Regions from separate parts of the Homo sapiens genome. Here region 1 is linked to region 2. The links are contacts of gene promoters, found by promoter capture Hi-C in human tissues and cell types (Jung and others, 2019). All regions are on one chromosome and are shown on one strand. Each heading gives the region's core, a stretch centred on a gene start or on the middle of the fragment in contact. The rest is flanking DNA. Distances are from core to core; before and after follow the strand shown. Region 1 overlaps CSTF3-DT (CSTF3 divergent transcript). Region 2 holds the start of CD59 (CD59 molecule (CD59 blood group)).

Region 1 (2,700 bases), core at 77-2,576, 550 kb after region 2:
CCAAAATAACTGAAAGCAGGGTCCTTTATTTATTTATGTATTTATTTTAGAGACAAGCTCTCACTCCATTGCCCAGGCTGGAGTGCAGTGGTGCAATCACGGCTCACTACAGCCTTGACCTCCCCAGGATCAGCTCCTGAGTTTGTAGAGACGGGTTTTGCCATGTTGCCCAGGTTGGTCTCAAACTCCTGGGCTCAAGTTATCCACCCGTCTCAGCCTCCTAAAGTGCTGGGATTACAGGAGTGAGCCACTGTGCCTCGTCTCTGAAAGCAGTCTTGAAGAGATATTTGCACACCCATATTCATCCTGGTATTGTTCACAGTAGCCGAGAGGTAGAAGTAACACGAGTATCCATTGACAGATGAACGGAAAAAGAAAATGTGATACACACATAGAATGGAATATCTGTGAAGGATCACACATTGTGCTATGTAAAAAAAAAAAGATGAGGAACTAGTTCTAGGATCAACTAAAAATCCTGTCACGTGCTGCAACATGGATGAACCTCAAGGATATAATGCTAAGTGAAATATGCCTAATAGTAATTCCCTAAGTCTGCTACTGATCTGCTTGTGCATGTGTCAAACATTATATTCTTAAATTCAACAGGACACTTATTAAATTAATCCAAGTGCCTCTTGTTTTGTCCCATCTCCCATAGTCATGTTACTTAAGACACTCCCTTTATGATTCCACTCATATGAAGTATCTCAAGCAGTCAAAACCATAGAAATAAAAAGTAGAAGTCTCCTTTAATCTAGAAAAGTTGCCCTTTAATCTAGAAAAGTTGCCCCCTTTTTTTTGTTTGTTTTTGTTTTCCATAATTGACATTTTTTTAAAGAGTCAGGACAATTGTTTTGCCAAGCTGATCAATCCTGGGATCTCTAATGGTTTCCTCATTGTTATATCTAGATAAGATATTTTTGCAGTATACTACATTGTTGATTTGTGCCCTTTTCATATCAGGGAGTGTTCTGTAAGGGGTTAACTCAGGAGGCTTGGACTGTTCAAACATCCCCAAGAAAGGACTGGACCTTGACCTGCTGCTGGAAGGTAACCTCTGAGCAATTATCCTGCCTGATAAGAGTGTTTCTATATGCCTTAGGCCCTGGGCCAAATTATTTGTTTGATCAGTTAGTTTGTGCTAACGATCTGACTTACCGTGAACACCTGTTTTTCTATGCCTGGGGTCCTGGACCATGCTATATCAGTTTGACCTCTCGAGGTCTGGAGACTGGACAGCTAAAGTCAGCCACATGGACAACACATGCTTATGTGAAAATCCTGAGGACCAAGGGGCTTGGGTCTGCTTCTTTGGACAGCAGTCTTCACACCTGTTGTCACACATAGTTGCTGAGAGAATTAAGTACAGTCTGTGTGGCCCCACTGGGAGAGGACAACTGGAAGCTTGCCCCTGATTTCTCCTATACTTAACCTCATGCACCTTTTCACTTTGCTGATTTAAATCTGTGCCCTTTCTTTGTAAGATACTGTAGCTGTGAGCAGAACAGGTTTTTTTTGAGTTTTTTGAGTACTTCTAGTGAATCATCAAACCTGAGGTTGATCTTAGGGATCCCCAACACAAGGGGCACAGCATGTCAGTTTGCTTCATTAACTTTGTTCAGGCCGGTGCAGTGGCTCATTCCTGTAATCCCAGCACTTTGGGAGGCTGAGGTGGGCGGATCACTTGAGGCCAGGAGTTCTAGACCAGCCTGGCCAACATGGCAAAACCCTGTCTCTACCAAAAATACAAAGATTAGCCAGGCCTGGTGGTGCACGCCTGTGATCCCAGCTACTTGGGCGACTGAGGCAGGAGAATGGCTTGAATCGAGGAGGCGGAGGTTGCAGTGAGCGGAGATCATGCCACTGCACTCCAGCCTGAGCAACAGAGCGAGACTCTGTCTTAAAAACTACAACAAGAAGAGCCAAAAAACAAACTTTGTACATTCAGCTAAGGTCCTCCTGGATTTCTCTGACATAAAGATGTTTTTCCTTTGTAATTAAGAAATATTCTGTGGAGTGATACTTGGAAACTATGAGTATCCTGTTCCCCAACAGTATTTCACATAATAGTTTTAGTATTTATTGATGATTATTGTATGGATCAATGATTACTTTGGAGGCTATAAAAAGGTGGTCTTCTATGATTTCAGTTGAAAGCCGGTTTTTTTTTTTTTTTTTTTTTTTTTTTTTTGAGACGGAGTCTTGCTCTGTCCGCCAGGCTGGAGTGCAGTGGCGTGATCTCAGCTCACTGCAAGCTCCGCCTCTCGGGTTCACGCCATTCTCCTCCCTCAGCCTCCTGAATAGCTGAGACTACAGGAGTGTGCCACCACGCCCAGCTAATTTTTGTAGTTTTTTTTTGTTGTCGTCGTTGTTGTTGCTGTTTTGAGACGGAGTCTCGCTCTGTCCCCCAGGCTGGAGTGCAGTGGCGCGATCTCAGCTCACTGCAAGCTCCGCCTCCCAGGTTCACGCCATTCTCCTGCCTCAGCCTCCCGCGTAGCTGGGACTACAGGCGCCCACCACCACACCCGGCTAATTACAGGTGTGAGCCACTGCGCCCAGCCTAAAAGTCCTTTATGTAAGTGTTGGAGACATGTGTCCTGAATGTGGCAGTTGCGACTCAGCGTTGGGCAGAGACCTCCATGTGAGTCCACATGGGTGTGGTGGGAGCTGGAATGTCTGGGACTCCTACAACTAGAA
Region 2 (2,700 bases), core at 71-2,570:
CACCCTCCCTCCTATGGCGTTCTTACAGTCAGTTCTGCAGTGAGTGGGACACTTTCCAAATATAATAGCAAATGGAAACTTCTAATTACATCTGCACATAAAACTAATGTTCCAAATGGTGGTTGCGGTTCTGGTGAGTGCTTATAATTTTTTGTTACCTCAGCATCCATTTTTGAATATGTTTAACTTTTAATAACAGAAGCAAGTCTCAGTCACCATTGACAGTTTCCAGTACTATACCCCACGCAAATGGCTCTAGCTGGTGGCCAGAGATAAACATGCAGTGATGTGATAACAGGGCACTACTGCAGCTTCAAACTCTGGTTCAAGTTCCTCCCACCTCTGCCTTTTCACCTGCTTGCTTTTAAATCCACCAGTTAGAGCTCTCCAGAGGAAACCTAACTGGATAAAGTTGCTGGCCCAAAGGTCCGTTCCTCCCTTCCCTCTCCCTGTTCTCCCTGATCTCCGTGTGTGTGTGTGTGTGTGTGTGTGTGTGTGTGTGTGTGTCCTCTAGGCAAGCTGTGTACCACCCAGGGTCCGTAAGTACTAAAAACTCTTAAACTTTCACACCGCTGTGTTATTGAAACCATGCCTACAATCCAGTCCCTGAGGCGAGGCCACCCTGAAGGGACAGACTCATGCAGGCGGATCCCCTGGTCTTGCTCTTCTGTCCCTGCCTCTGGTGGCTGCTGGGGAACAGTAGCTACCAGCTAAGTTGATAGAGACACTCGAAGAGGTTCATTCAAAACACTGGTCCCCGAGCAGCCCAGTAAGCTTTTAAACGCATAACATTTTGTTTGGGTCTCAAACAAGTCACAAGGCACGGATACGGATGCGGCTGTGGCTGATGGCTATTTGGATGCTGCCCAAGCCTCGCAGTAGGAAGCAGCTTCAGACTGCAGCAGGGCCGCATAGCCCGATAGCCAGGCCCTGGGGCACCCAGGGCACCAGCAAGACGCACAGAAACGTTTTGAAAAACATTTTAATATACTTAAAAAAAAAGTAAAAGGGAAAATCAGAAGTCTTTGGAAGTTTCCTACTGTTTTTATGTCCCATAGCAAATCCGAGGAGGACGCCCCAAACTTTCAGTTCCCTGGGGTTTTGAAGGTGCTCATTGGGTCCTGGCCACCCGGCCTTCTCAGAACCTGGGCCAGGAGGCTGAGCTCCGCGCGGGGGTGGAGGGAGAGGAGGAGGTTCCTGCCGAGGTGCGGCTGCGCGGTGCGGGAGCCGGGAGCCTGGGAGGGCAAGGGCATCCTGAGGGGCGGGGCCGGGGGGCGGAGCCTTGCGGGCTGGAGCGAAAGAATGCGGGGGCTGAGCGCAGAAGCGGCTCGAGGCTGGAAGAGGATCTTGGGCGCCGCCAGGTAAGAAGGCCCGAAGGCCTGCTGGGGTTTGGGTGAGCCGAGCCGAGGTGGCGGCGGCAGTCTGGGCCCGGGCGGAGGGTCTGTGGGGGCTACCCCCGTCCTCGCTTTCCACTCGACCCCTGCCGGGCGAGCCTCCCGAGGCCTGGCCCTTCCAACCCGTCACCGCGGCCCGGTGTCCTAGCCGAACGCTGGCTTCATTTTATCTACGAGGAAGGAGAAACGGGGAGCGCGCCCTCTCCCAGAAGCAGCCCCGTTACCCCCGTCGCGCCCCCCATTCCCTCGGGGGCAGCCTCGCACCCGGGCCCCTGCCATCGCTTTCGTCTCAAGGGAAGCTCTAGCGGTCCAGAGAAACTGCGCCGGGGGAAAGGCCAGCCCTCCGTGGTCACGGCAGTTCCTCTCTCCCCTCGCGGTCTAAATGTGTAATTTTGAAAAGCAGGTGTCGGGCGAAACGGACTTTTTTTTTTTTTTGAGATGGAGTTTCGCTGTTGCCCAGGCTGGAGTGCAGTGGCGCGATCTGGGTTCACCGCAACCTCCGTGTACCGGGTTCAAGCGATTCTCCTGCCACAGCCTCCTGAGTAGCTGGGATTACAGGCATGCGCCACCATGCCTGGCTAAATTTTGTATTTTTAGTAGAAACGGGGTTTTCCCATGTTGGTCAGGCTGATCTTGAATTCCTGACCTCGTGATCCGCCCGCCTCCGCCTCCCAAAGTGTTGGGATTACAGGTGTGAGCCACCGCGCCCGGCCGAAACGGACGTTTTAAGTACAACGTGATGTTTTGTTTTCTTGGGTCGGCTCGGGCCGCACCCTTCTTAGAGTCTGACTGCTGACTTTTCAAAAAACAACATTAACCCGGGAGGCTGAGGTAGCGGTGAGCCGAGATCGCGCCATTGCCCTACTGCCTGGGCAATAAGAGCGAGACTCCGCCTCAAAAACGAACAAAACCCACAAAGAACAAACAAAAAAAACCAACATTAAGCAGTGTGCCTTTTATGGCCGTTTAGTGATACCCAGGCTCTTCACTGGTCATTTCTGGAAGTATTTAACAGCACTTGATGGGTAAAACAATAGGCTTCACTTCACAGGGTGGTTGAGATGATTGACGGAAAGCGCTCAGCACAAACGCGGCGGCTGCTAATTATTTCAGGTACCCTGCGATCCCTGAGCAGTTGTTCAAGTTCTCCACTCCTGGCGGTTTACTCCCAGTTCCCTGAAGAAGGCACAGAGCCCCGAATGTTGAGGGAGATGGCAACGTTTGCCAAAATGTGGCTATTTACGTGGCAGTTTATGAAGGAGAGGCAGAAAGGGAGGCTGCCTCCCCTACAAGCCAAACAGTCCTA

The links. The method cuts DNA at HindIII sites, captures the fragments that hold promoters and counts their contacts. A contact is called where the count stands out against the background at its distance.
Region 1: a fragment that was not itself captured here is called in contact with the fragment with the promoter of CD59 in region 2 in 1 of the 25 tissues and cell types used here (lymphoblastoid cells).

Annotation. Positions count from the first base shown.
Region 1 is chr11:33,181,075-33,183,774 of GRCh38, reverse strand. The region is part of intron 1 of CSTF3-DT (CSTF3 divergent transcript); the gene reads right to left. Among named protein-coding and RNA genes, the nearest start is that of CSTF3-DT, 21 kb to the right of the region's middle. The HindIII fragment of the contact is 5,099 bases long and covers 1-2,700 here.
Region 2 is chr11:33,735,043-33,737,742 of GRCh38, reverse strand. It overlaps CD59 (CD59 molecule (CD59 blood group)), which reads left to right and starts at 1,320. Exons shown (of 4, transcript NM_000611.6): 1 at 1,320-1,361. RefSeq lists a silencer at 1,202-1,671. The HindIII fragment of the contact is 16,078 bases long and covers 1-2,700 here.